Regions from separate parts of the Homo sapiens genome. Here region 1 is linked to region 2. The links are contacts of gene promoters, found by promoter capture Hi-C in blood cells and fetal thymus (Javierre and others, 2016). All regions are on one chromosome and are shown on one strand. The core of a region is centred on a gene start or on the middle of the fragment in contact, and the rest is flanking DNA. Distances in the headings are between cores, read along the strand shown.

Region 1 (5,638 bases), core at 1,963-4,462, 920 kb before region 2:
TTATAATTTGAAATGCATTGAACGTTGTTTTATGGACCGAAATATGTTTTTTTCTGTGTGTATTTCTAAAGCCTGTAGAGTTGTAATTGTTGGACATACCTTTCTGTAAATCTTCATTAGGTCAAGTAGGTTGATAGTGTTGTTATGATCTCCTATATGCATGCTGTATTTTTTCTACTTATTCTATTAATTACTGACAGAAGAAATGTTAAGTCCTCAAATTTTAGAATTTGTCTGTTAGTTTTGTTTCATGCATTTTTCAAGTTCTGTTTTTAGGTGTATACATATTTAGAAAATAATGTCTTTCTAATGAATTGTTCCTTTATTATTATGATGAAATGTCTTTATTTCTTGACTCATTCTTTTTTTATAAAGTCTACTTGTATCGTAATAAGATAGTCACTAGGATTTTTATGCTTATTATTTTACTTCTAACCTAATGGTGTCTCTCATTTTAATACGTATGATTTGGGCATTGTTTCTACTCTAAACTCTTAGCATTTCCATGGTCTCTGACTTGATGACCTGAGATTGAGAGATGATTAACGATCTCTTTCCCTTTTACCTGAGCTAGACCTCTGATGTCCCTGTAGCACTGTCTGACCTCTCTTATTTCTGTTGCTTTGTTCTACATTTGGCTGAAACTGCTCCACTGTAAGCTTCATGCGCTCTTGCTCCGCACATTCTGTCAAGCCGTTCATCACAGGAAGCCCTCATAAAGATTTCTGCCTCCTCCTTACCAACCGTTTGACACTACCTCCTTTCCAGTGTCTTGCCCTGTAGATCCAAGATTGCTGATCTGAACTCTGATTTTTGCTCTTGGGTCCAGTAGTAACACCATGCCCTGCTAAGAATGCAGCTTGCTCTGCCACTTTTAAGGATACTTTCACCAGGAGCCAGGGTGATTTTGAGGTTTGCCTTCCGATTTTCCCTTCCCTCAGTGATCAGTCTTTTGTTGCCTCTTTTCTTTTGACTAATAACATTAGTCTCAAATACCCCGTCTAGCTTTAAAGTTGTTTATTGTGGGATGGCAAATTCAGTACCAGTTATTCTATCATATAATCAGAACCCCCTATTTTTTGTTATTGTTTCCTTTCATCTTTCATCTTTTCAACTTTATATTGCTTGTGGGAAACTAGCTTTGACTCTGTCACTTAGTAAATTCTGTGACATACTAATATCCTCCAGGGGGAGCCAAAACATTAGCGTGCAGGTATAATGCACCTGGATCTCTGAGGTTCCACTGACCATGAAGGTATTTCAGATGAAATCTTAGTAAGAAATGCCTTGATTTTTTTTTTTAATCGCAGCAGATACCTCTGTTTTAATTAGGACACACACTAGTTAAAGGAAAATTTCCTCACAAAGATGGTCATCAGATCAAAGTCATATCTGTGAAGATGATCTATAGCTTCAGTGGAGATTCAAGGCCTCAGGGCTTTAGACGGAATGTTGAGTCTTTGAAGATAAATAATGTCAAATCCATTATTTGATAAGGTCTTGCAATCAAACTGTGGCAGTGATTTTAATGGTTTCATTTGAATGTTTGCTGTAATAAAAGGATAAGAATGTTACAAATATGGTGAGTGTGTAGGGCGGGTTCTTTAACTTCAGAGAGTTTGCTCATAATCCTTTTTGGCTTTAATTTATTTTCATTGACTGAATTTCCCTTTGAATTTTTAAAACTCCAAGCCACTTTGCATATTCTCTTTTTAACTCTGACCTTTCCATTTATTTATATATTTATATGCTTGTTGCTCTGTTTCAGTTTTTTTTTAGTTCTTAATCTCACTGCCAAACACTGGCCCTTGAGTTCTGTTTATTATAGTTGAATTTAATTGTGACTTGATGTAAAATTACAAATGGGTAACAAATTGTGAATTTGTGATAAAAATGGAAAGCTATTCAAAGGAAGAGTCACCTATTTGGTTTCCTAGAGTCATCTCCCAGTTGGCCTCTCAAATGCTAATTTCACTTTCTTTTAATCTATCCTCCATATTTTGCCCATGTGTTCTTTCTAAATACAATTCTATTTTGGTTTCTCTTTGCATCAAATATACCAGCAACTGACCATGACATAAAATTCAAAGATAAATTTATTAGTGAGGCAAGATGGAGGTCATGCATATCCATTAAACTCATCACTAACCCTCTCTTCTCTGCACACTCTGTGTTCCAGGCATTCTATGAAGTATGTTAAACTCTCCAGTGATATGTTTTCTCTTAATGTCAAGTCTTTATTAATTCTGTTCCTCAGCCTAAAATTTCACCTCCAAACACATCCATCTGTAAAGTGCTTGCTTCTTTTATCTTTTTTTCAAGTGTTGCATTTTCTTTTTAAGAATTTATTGACACCCTTTCCTCCCTCAAGCAGGTCCTTCCTTCTCTTTCATGGTTTTCAACTTCATTCTCTAGGTATTTCTACTGTAATAAAGTGTTGAAATTGTCTAATTTATGTCTATATTTCCCTATATAGTTTGTGGTTCTTACCTTCTTATGGACTGAGTCCCACATTATTCTAAAATTCTCAATGTCTACAACTTTATTTATATTTGTCCCCAACATCATTCAAAGTAAACTCACACATAGCAAAAGACTTTGAACTGATAAATAAATAAGTGTGTAAATAAATAAATAAAAGGTGGAAAGAGCCCTGTTTTTTACATAAACACGCCAACTGAGGTCAAGTACAATATGGAAGTTCTTTTTAGCCTACTAAAAATAAATCGAAACTCAAACAGAATATGTCATTTTTTTAAACCTTGACTTTTTTTTCCTGGCTATAGTAAAAATGTGGGAGAAATATAGTTATATGATGAGAAAGCAATTGTAATAACCCTGGAATATGATTTCCTAGCCAGGTCGGAAGCTGAGCAGAGACATGGCTCCACTAGAGTAAGTGTTCTGCAGAGAGACGACACCTCTGGCTGATCTGTGTGTTCCTGCCACGCAAAGCTGCTCTCTAGGCCCTCTGTGAATAGACATGATACTCACTATGCATATTTCCTAGATATGTTCCTGAGCCTAGGAATTCCTTGATATATTTTCTGGTTTCTTGGAAAAAAATAGGTGTTACCTAGGACCTCTCGGCTTATGCTAGAGATAGCAACATAGGATGGGAACAGAGCCTGCTCTCTTTGTTGAGGTATTCTCACTCCTACTAGTCCAAACATACTCTTTTTAGCTGGTGAATTAGTACATTTCCACACTGCTATAAAGACATACCCGAGACTGAATAATTTATAAAGAAAAGAGGTTTAATTGACTCACAGCTGGGGAAGACTCAGGAAACTTACAATCATGGCAGAAGGGGAAGCAGGCACATCTTACATGGCAGCATGCAAGAGAGGAGAGTGAAGGAGGAATTTCCACACACTTATAAAACCATCAGATCTCATGAGAGCTCACTCACTATCATGAGAACAGCATGAGGAAAACCAACACCATGATTCAACCACCTCCCTTCCTCCACACACGGGGATTATAATTCGAGATGAGATTTGGGTGGGGATACAGAGCCAAACTATATCTGTTGTGATCTCAGTGAAACTGCATAAAGAACAACTATGTCCAACATAAGGCTGTAGAATAATAAGGAAAAGCATGCACTGTGCTACATCCCTTCTTGATTTATCCCCAATAAATTTTATCTAGTATCATGAGGCATTAGTAGTGTGTTTCAGTAACTCCCTTAGATGATACTAGAAACCCAAGATAAGCTGTGTTTTACTCATCCTGGTACCCTGTTTCATTTTTAATTTTGCTTTTTGGAGATAATTCTAGTGAGCCATCTCATCACCTAGGGATAATGACAGGTGACAAGGAGGCACAGACCCACAGGAGTTAGTCCCCGTCCTCCCACAGAGACTGGGTGAAAGAACAAGTTATCTCCCTGAATGTTTGCATTTCAGAGATAGCTCTCAGGTCCTTGAAGAAACAGTTTAGAGTGTTAGCTTCACGTCCATTACAAGAGATTAAAAAAAAAAGATACATAATTGCAAGCTGCCTATGGAGTGAACATTTGTGTACTTCTAAAATTTATTTGTTGAGACCTCTTTCCCACTATGATGGTGTTAAGAAGTGAGGTCTTTGAAGTTAATGAGATTATTAGGGTAGAGTCCTCATAAATGGGATTACAACCCTTACAAAGGAAACACCTGAAAACCTCCTTATCCCTTTCACCATGTGAGGATACAATGAAAAGACCGCAGCCTGCAACCTGGAAGAGGGCTCTCAACAGGCACCACTGTGATCACAGACTTCCAGCCTCCAGCATGGTGAGAAATACATTTGTGTTTCTTAAAAGCCACACGGTCGATGGTATTTGTTATAGCAGCCTGAATGGAGCAGTCTTTTGAAGTAGCTTCTCCAAGATGGTTTTCCACAGCCTATCTGCTTATCAGCAGGTTTTTGATGGAACAAATAGTAAATTCATTTGGCAACATTGAGCTTTCTCAGGCCGACATTATAAGGGGAAAGGGGAGGATGTAGAGTAGGGGGAGAGCTGGGGTCATCCCAGGAACACAGCCTTATACTGCTATTATAGAAGCCATTCTAGAGTTTGGTCATCTCTTAGTGCAGGGGTTTGGATGGAATCGCTGAGTCGTTATATGTCGAGAGGTCTACCGGTCTCACTTCAATTGATATAATTTTCACGCCTGAACTATTCCTCCTGACCCTCTTCTGGTGCCATTCCTGGGGAGGACACGGAACAGGGGAAATGGTGATTTCTCCAGGTTAGCCTCTTGCTTGTATTATGGCAATAAGTGATGGGAGGCTTGACTGTTTCTCGTTTTGGCTTGTTGTCTTCATTGGCTACTCCCACACCTGGCAGTGTGGCTTCCTCCGACTCAGCTGAGCCTCCTGCCATACTCCACTCCTTTACCAAATAGAGTCCTTCTCTTCCTTATTTGAGAAGGAATTGTATAGTTCATTTCTCTTCTGAATAATATAGTTCTGTTTTTTTTCTGTGTGTATGTCAAATCTGATTTTTGAGGAACCTCCATACTCTTCTCCATGCAGATATACTAATTTACGTTCCCACCAAGTTTATGAGAGTTCTCATTTCTTCATATTCTCACCAGCATTTGTTATTGCTAGTCTTCTGGATAAAAGCCATTTTAACTGGGGTGCAATATATGTCATTGTAGTTTTGATTGTGAGAATTGTGACTCTTTCTAAGCCATTACATATTCATTCATCTGCAATGTCTGAAAATGGATAAAAGTTTTATCCAGTGGGTGTTTTGATCTAAGGGGATGGATAGACAGATCGTATGCTCCTATCAAGGGTACCTGGAGCAAATGTAAACTTGTGTTTCAGCTGGTTTTCAGACCACCCTCCTCTGCCCCCAGAGGTCACTTAGGATGACACCAACAACTAAACAAAGAAATTATCACTTCAGAAAACTGATCAATCAACTGCCTCATTCTCAAGTGGTCATGACAGACTTAAGTTCCTGTGAGCATATACTTGCTCAAACCTGGGAAATGACAGGGGAGTGGGTTGAGAGTAAATAATTATCTTTTTCTCCAAATATTTTATAACAAGCAATCTTAGTGATGACTCATAAGGCAAATTCCTCAGAAAGTGGGATCAATCCTTTTGCATCTAATCCAGTTTTTTGTGGTTTCCTTAA
Region 2 (5,449 bases), core at 927-3,426:
GTCTCAGAGTGCCTCTTCATAACCACCTCGTATCCTGACTTACAAATTAGCTGAATCACAATTTCACATCTATGTTACATGTACACATCCAAATTTTATGTCTCTGTGTACTATTTAAACCTATATATCTAAACATTTCTAATTTCCTATGTCTCCAAATTCCAACACACTTAGCCTCTACAATGATAAATTCAGATTCCACAACTGAGACATTTTTCTTCTCCAAACCACTCACAATGTAATCCTAAGTCTGCATAAACTTGTTTCCTATTATGCTCCCATTCTGCCCCACACTACCTACACTTATTTAATTGCAGTTGTATTTTAACTGCAATTTTCAGGGATTGTTTCTTGGTGCTCAAAAATACCTGTCTATGCTATAAATGAACAGTTAAACACAATCAGCAGCTATCTGAAAATTAAAGAAGCATATCTGTAGGACATATGTGCATGCTGATCTTTGCTTAAGAACCACTGAATTAACGAATTGGGCTAGTATTAGCTTCAGATGGACATATCTGCAATTTTGCTAAGACTGAAATATTTCATACTCTATGTTAGGAAGGGAAAATGAGCAGAATCTTATCAAGACACTTTACAAACTATAGGAATATCCAACATTTGCATACTGATTTCTGAACATTAAATCTGCATCCAATCGTGTTTCATCCGCCACTAACACTATAGCTGTGGGGAGGAGAAGGGCAGAAAAAGGAAGGCTTCACATCCAAAATGTCAAGCCCTGCTGAAGAATGATAGAAGGACTCTGTGGAAGAGCAGAAACCAACTTCTGGGCTTAAAATGGAGTTCTACCACCCCCTGCTGGACCAAACGAGCAATACAGAAGAGGCTAAAAATGCTTAGAACTGAATATCTTGGGGATATTTTAACTTGTCTTGTAATTTATTATATTATTTTAAAAAACCAATTTCACACTACACTAACAACATAACATTCTTTGCAATCATTACATATCTCAAAATTAGTGCTATTTTATTTTTCCTTTAAAGACTTTCACCAATGCATGTTTTAGCATTTTGTGTCCCTAATTAAACGTCCAAACTTGTCTGGACAGTTGAAAATGCTTCCATTTATTGTAAATATATTTCATGTGAGTGTTTACTATCTAAACAGCCAGATAAATTCATATCTATCTCTCTAGAGACAAACAGTGATAGCTTCCACAAATTCCCTCTCAGGTTATTCTACCAGGCTATTCATTTTTTTTTTTTAAGAGATAAAAGCTTCCACCAGTTCTCCCACAACCCCAAAAATCCTCTACAGGTGTAATTACAATGTAATGTTATAAAATGATTCCACCTTTCTGTATTAATAAGGGGTTGGGGTCAAAATGAATGACTGCAACACATCCCTAGTTTTATCCATTTGCTTTCTTACACACAATATCCACGGCCCCTCTCTTAGTTTCCAACAGAAATAAGCCATCATCATTCACTTCATAGTCAGGAATTAGGGTTTTGGGAAAGGGGTGGAAAAAAAAAAGAGTCTCCAAGAATCGAACGTCTTGCACACAGCAGATATTTTGCAAATGAGTTTAACACTGATAGTTTTTGCTGCTTCTGTAAAACACCATCGTGCCCTTTCCTTCCGCAACCTCAGATATTTCACTGTTAACACACTCATCCAATTTCTGATAATAAAAATAAGAGAAAGCCATAATCCCAGAGGAAAAAAAAAGAAGAAGAAGAAGCGGTTTCCCTGGATATCCTGCTCACCGATTCCCCTCTCCAATTCTGTATTTTCCCTTCTCTTATTTAAGGGTCTCCACACAACAGATACAATTTTAGGGACAGCTAGGAGAAAGAACGAAAATAATAATAACAACAACAGCAATAACTGTAACTTTAGTTCTTTCATTTCATTCTTCCTGCGCCTCCCTCTTTGCCTCTCTTGGCCGGGTGGAAGGGGGAGGGAAAGTAAATGCAATAAAGCGCCACACTCCTACCTTGCCCGCTACTGACAAGCAACCCCAGCAGGTAGAAGGAGAGGAGGAGGCTCATGTTCAGGACGTGACACCGGTGGACAGTTTCAAAGTTATTAAGTCCAGCCCTGGAGAGAGAACCTTTCGCTGCCCCGGCCGCCTCTGCTAGAGCCGCCGCCGCCGCTCCCGCGGTGCCCCAGCCGCCCGCAGCCCGCGCGCTCCTCCTCGCAAAGTGACTGCAAGCTCCGCTCTTGCCGCACTATATCCAGGCAGCGGCGGCGGCAGCGGCGGCAGAAGCAGCAGCAGCAGCGGCCGCCGCGGCGGCAGCAGAGCCGGGCGGGGAGGGCGGCGGGGGCGGGGGCGCGGCGAGGGGAGGTGCGGCCGAGGCGTATCCCTCCGCGCTGCACGGCGGCCGCTCTTCCGCGAGGCGCGCGGTCCCGGGATTCGTCCGCAGTGGAGCTCGAAGTCACGGGTTCGGTCCCCGGTGCCTCCGCCTAGAGGGGCGGCCGCGATCGCGAAGGCGCCACTCGCCCGCCGGCCATCCGCAGGTTCATGCACGCCCTGAGCCGAGAAGGGCGTGGGGATGGGGGCAGCCTGGAGCTCCTTCACAGCCGCCGGCTGCCTCAGGACAGCTGAGCTGATGCTGAGCTGAGCTGAGCTGAGCTGATGCTCATGCAGATGCTGATGCTGATGCTGATGCTGATACTGATACTGCAGGCGACCGCCCCGAGCGCGCCCCGGCTCAACGTGAATGGGGGATCTGGAGGCGGGCGGTGTGCCCCGCAGCTTATTCCTTTTGGGCGTGGGAGGAGGGAGATTCTTGTCTCTCCGTGGACCTCCTTCTCCCTCTCTCGCTCAAACCTGGAGCAGGCTGGCCCCTTGCGCGGCTGTCCCCTTCCCACGCTCCCCACCCCGCCGCGACAGAGGGGAAGCAATTGTACCCTAAAGTCTACACTGTCTGTCTCCTCAGGCGCTAAAGGGTGGGCGGAAAAATAACGTACAGAGTGTTTCCTCTACATCTCGACCCATTGCTGTTGGGAGCGGCACCTTACGGGAGAGACACTGGAGAGGGGACGAGCCGCGGGAGGGGCTGCGTTCAACTCAGCCTTAGCCTCAGCTGTGTCCTTAGAGGCCTGAAGTCTCTCCTGGCCTCACTCCGCGGGCTCTGCCCTCGGTCCCAGTGCGCTGCACTGGCCAGATCCCCGCCAGGAGTGCACCGAGGGAGGACTGCAAATGTGCAAAGATGAGTTGGGTCGCGGGGGGGAGACCTTCCCCAGATCAGTGCCCTACCCCGAACACCCACGTACCCGCGTGTGCGAGTGTAAATTGAAGTGAGGGAGCCGTGGCAAACGCCCGGAACTAACTCTCTGCTCCTTAAGATTGGGGCTTATCGTTATTTCTCCTAGAAGGGTAGGAAAACGTTTGTGAGATTAACGTCACCTCTCCTGCAAGAGCGGTTAAGAGGCAGAATCACCGGCCCGGGTGCGGAGCCCATGTCAATCTGGCCTGGGGTTACCGCGACCTGCAAACGCTGACGATGGGTCCTTTCATCTGCACTTTCTCTCTGGCTCCTTAGAAAACTCAACTGCCTCGCCCCGGCCTCCACAAGGACCCTAGCTCCTTCCTTATCAGTGAGGACATAGAAATAGCGGGGGTTGGAGAGGGGGGAGGTAGAAATGTAGAGCTCAGAATCCAGCCCCAGCCTGGGGATTTCACGCTGAAAAGGGCAGTGCATTGCCTTCAGGGAGGGCAGGGGGCAAGAGTAGACACAGGCTAACATGCATAGGGGAGATACCGTCTGCGATTTGTCCTCCCCAGGCAGAGCGCTTTATACAGATGATTCGTCCACTTGGCATCCTGGGATGGGGTTATCAGGAAGAGAGGAGGGGAAAGGCGGCCCTCAACTCACCATCGCTGAACTGCCTTAAGCAATGGCCCTCTCAGCACCTCACAGCTAGAGAACCTCTTATTTCCTCTTGATCTTATAGCAGACAATATATTTAGAAAGTTATTTTGCCACGGTACCCTTCTCACACCCTTTACTGGTTCTGGAATGCACTAACCACACTTAAGTAAACTCATGGTCAGCTCTTTGCAGGAAAGGGTGGAAGTAGCACATTTATAGATGTGAAAGACCGTGACTCATTTATTTACTCCAATTCTTCATTTCTCTTGGGCATTGATAAATGCTACACAGTAGGCCTTCTGCGTCCACAGTTCTACATCCTCAGATTCTACCAACCATGGATGAAAAATAACTTTAAAAAAAATGAAACAATGATACAATCAAAATAACGTAAATAAAAAAATACAGCAAAGTGACTATTTACAAAGCATTTGCATTATATAATGTATTACACCTAATCCAGAGATGATGTAATATGCAGGAGGTTATATGCAAATTTATGCTATTTTATATAAGGGACTTGAGCATCCAAGGATCTGTGAGAGTATTGAAACTAGTCCCCCCTGTGGATACCAAAGAATGACTTCAGCACACACACACACACACACACACACACACACACACACACACAAAATCACAGAAGACAGTTAAAAGTATACTCTGTGTGTCAAATAGCATCTTCACACAGCCTGCAATTTTTCAACCTGACACTGGGAGTGGCCAAGTGCCTATCACACACACATACATGCACATCTGTTAATCAGGTGGAAATATTGACAACTGAATTCTCCTCTGTGTTATTAGAAGTCAAATTACTTTCAGGCTGGGCGTGGCTCATACCTGTAATCCCAGCACTTTGGGAGGCTGAGGTGGGCGGATCACAAGGTCAGGAGTTCAAGACCAGCCTGGCCAATATGGTGAAACCCCGTCTCTACTAATAATACAAAAATTAGCCAGGGGTGGTGGCACACCTCTAGTCCCAGCTACTCAGGAGACTGAGGCAGAAGAATCGCTTGAACCCAGGAGGTGGAGGCTGCAGTGAGCTGAAATTGTGCCACTGCACTTCAGCTTGAGTGACAGAGCAAGACTCTGTCTCAAAAAAAAAAAAAAAAAAGTCAAATTACTTTTTTCTTAGGCAATGGGTTAAACCATGCCAGAGGAAAATTTGACTGGTATCCTGTAAGGTAATTTAGACATTAAATGTTCTTAGAGTGAGGTTAGGGAGATGGTAGCAATAGTCTATCAGACACAAATGAAATTTCTGATTAGAAGTTTGTATCATAAGACTATACTGTGTCCAAACTTCTGTGTGTGTGAGAGAGAGACAGAGAGAGAGAGAGAGAGAGACAGAGGGAAGATAAGAGAGAGAGAGAGAGCATCTCTGTGTATGGAAAAGATAAATGGACAAACCCTTGGTACTCAGGAATATACAAAGAAAGGTGATACAGCTATGGATCCTGCCCCTCAATTCGTTAATAGCCACTTGTTGAAGATATCAGGCATAAGCACACAATTCAATCATCTACATCAGGTTTTTAAAAAATGCCATAAGAAGAGTGAAAATGCCCTGCTATTGTGACATAAGAGGAGGGGATCATTTC

Evidence for each region. Contacts are between HindIII fragments. The CHiCAGO score rates a contact against its expected background, and 5 or more counts as called.
Region 1: a contact is called between a fragment that was not itself captured here and the fragment with the promoter of NCAM2 in region 2, in 2 of 17 cell types (M2 macrophages and M1 macrophages). The highest score is 11.9, in M2 macrophages.

What each region holds. Positions count from the first base shown.
Region 1 is chr21:21,917,386-21,923,023 of GRCh38, reverse strand. No RefSeq gene overlaps it. Among named protein-coding and RNA genes, the nearest start is that of LINC01425, 170 kb to the right of the region's middle. The HindIII fragment of the contact is 5,101 bases long and covers 662-5,638 here.
Region 2 is chr21:20,995,136-21,000,584 of GRCh38, reverse strand. NCAM2 (neural cell adhesion molecule 2) reads right to left here and starts at 2,176. Exons shown (of 18, transcript NM_004540.5): 1 at 1,967-2,176. The coding sequence starts at 2,021. The HindIII fragment of the contact is 4,236 bases long and covers 1,247-5,449 here.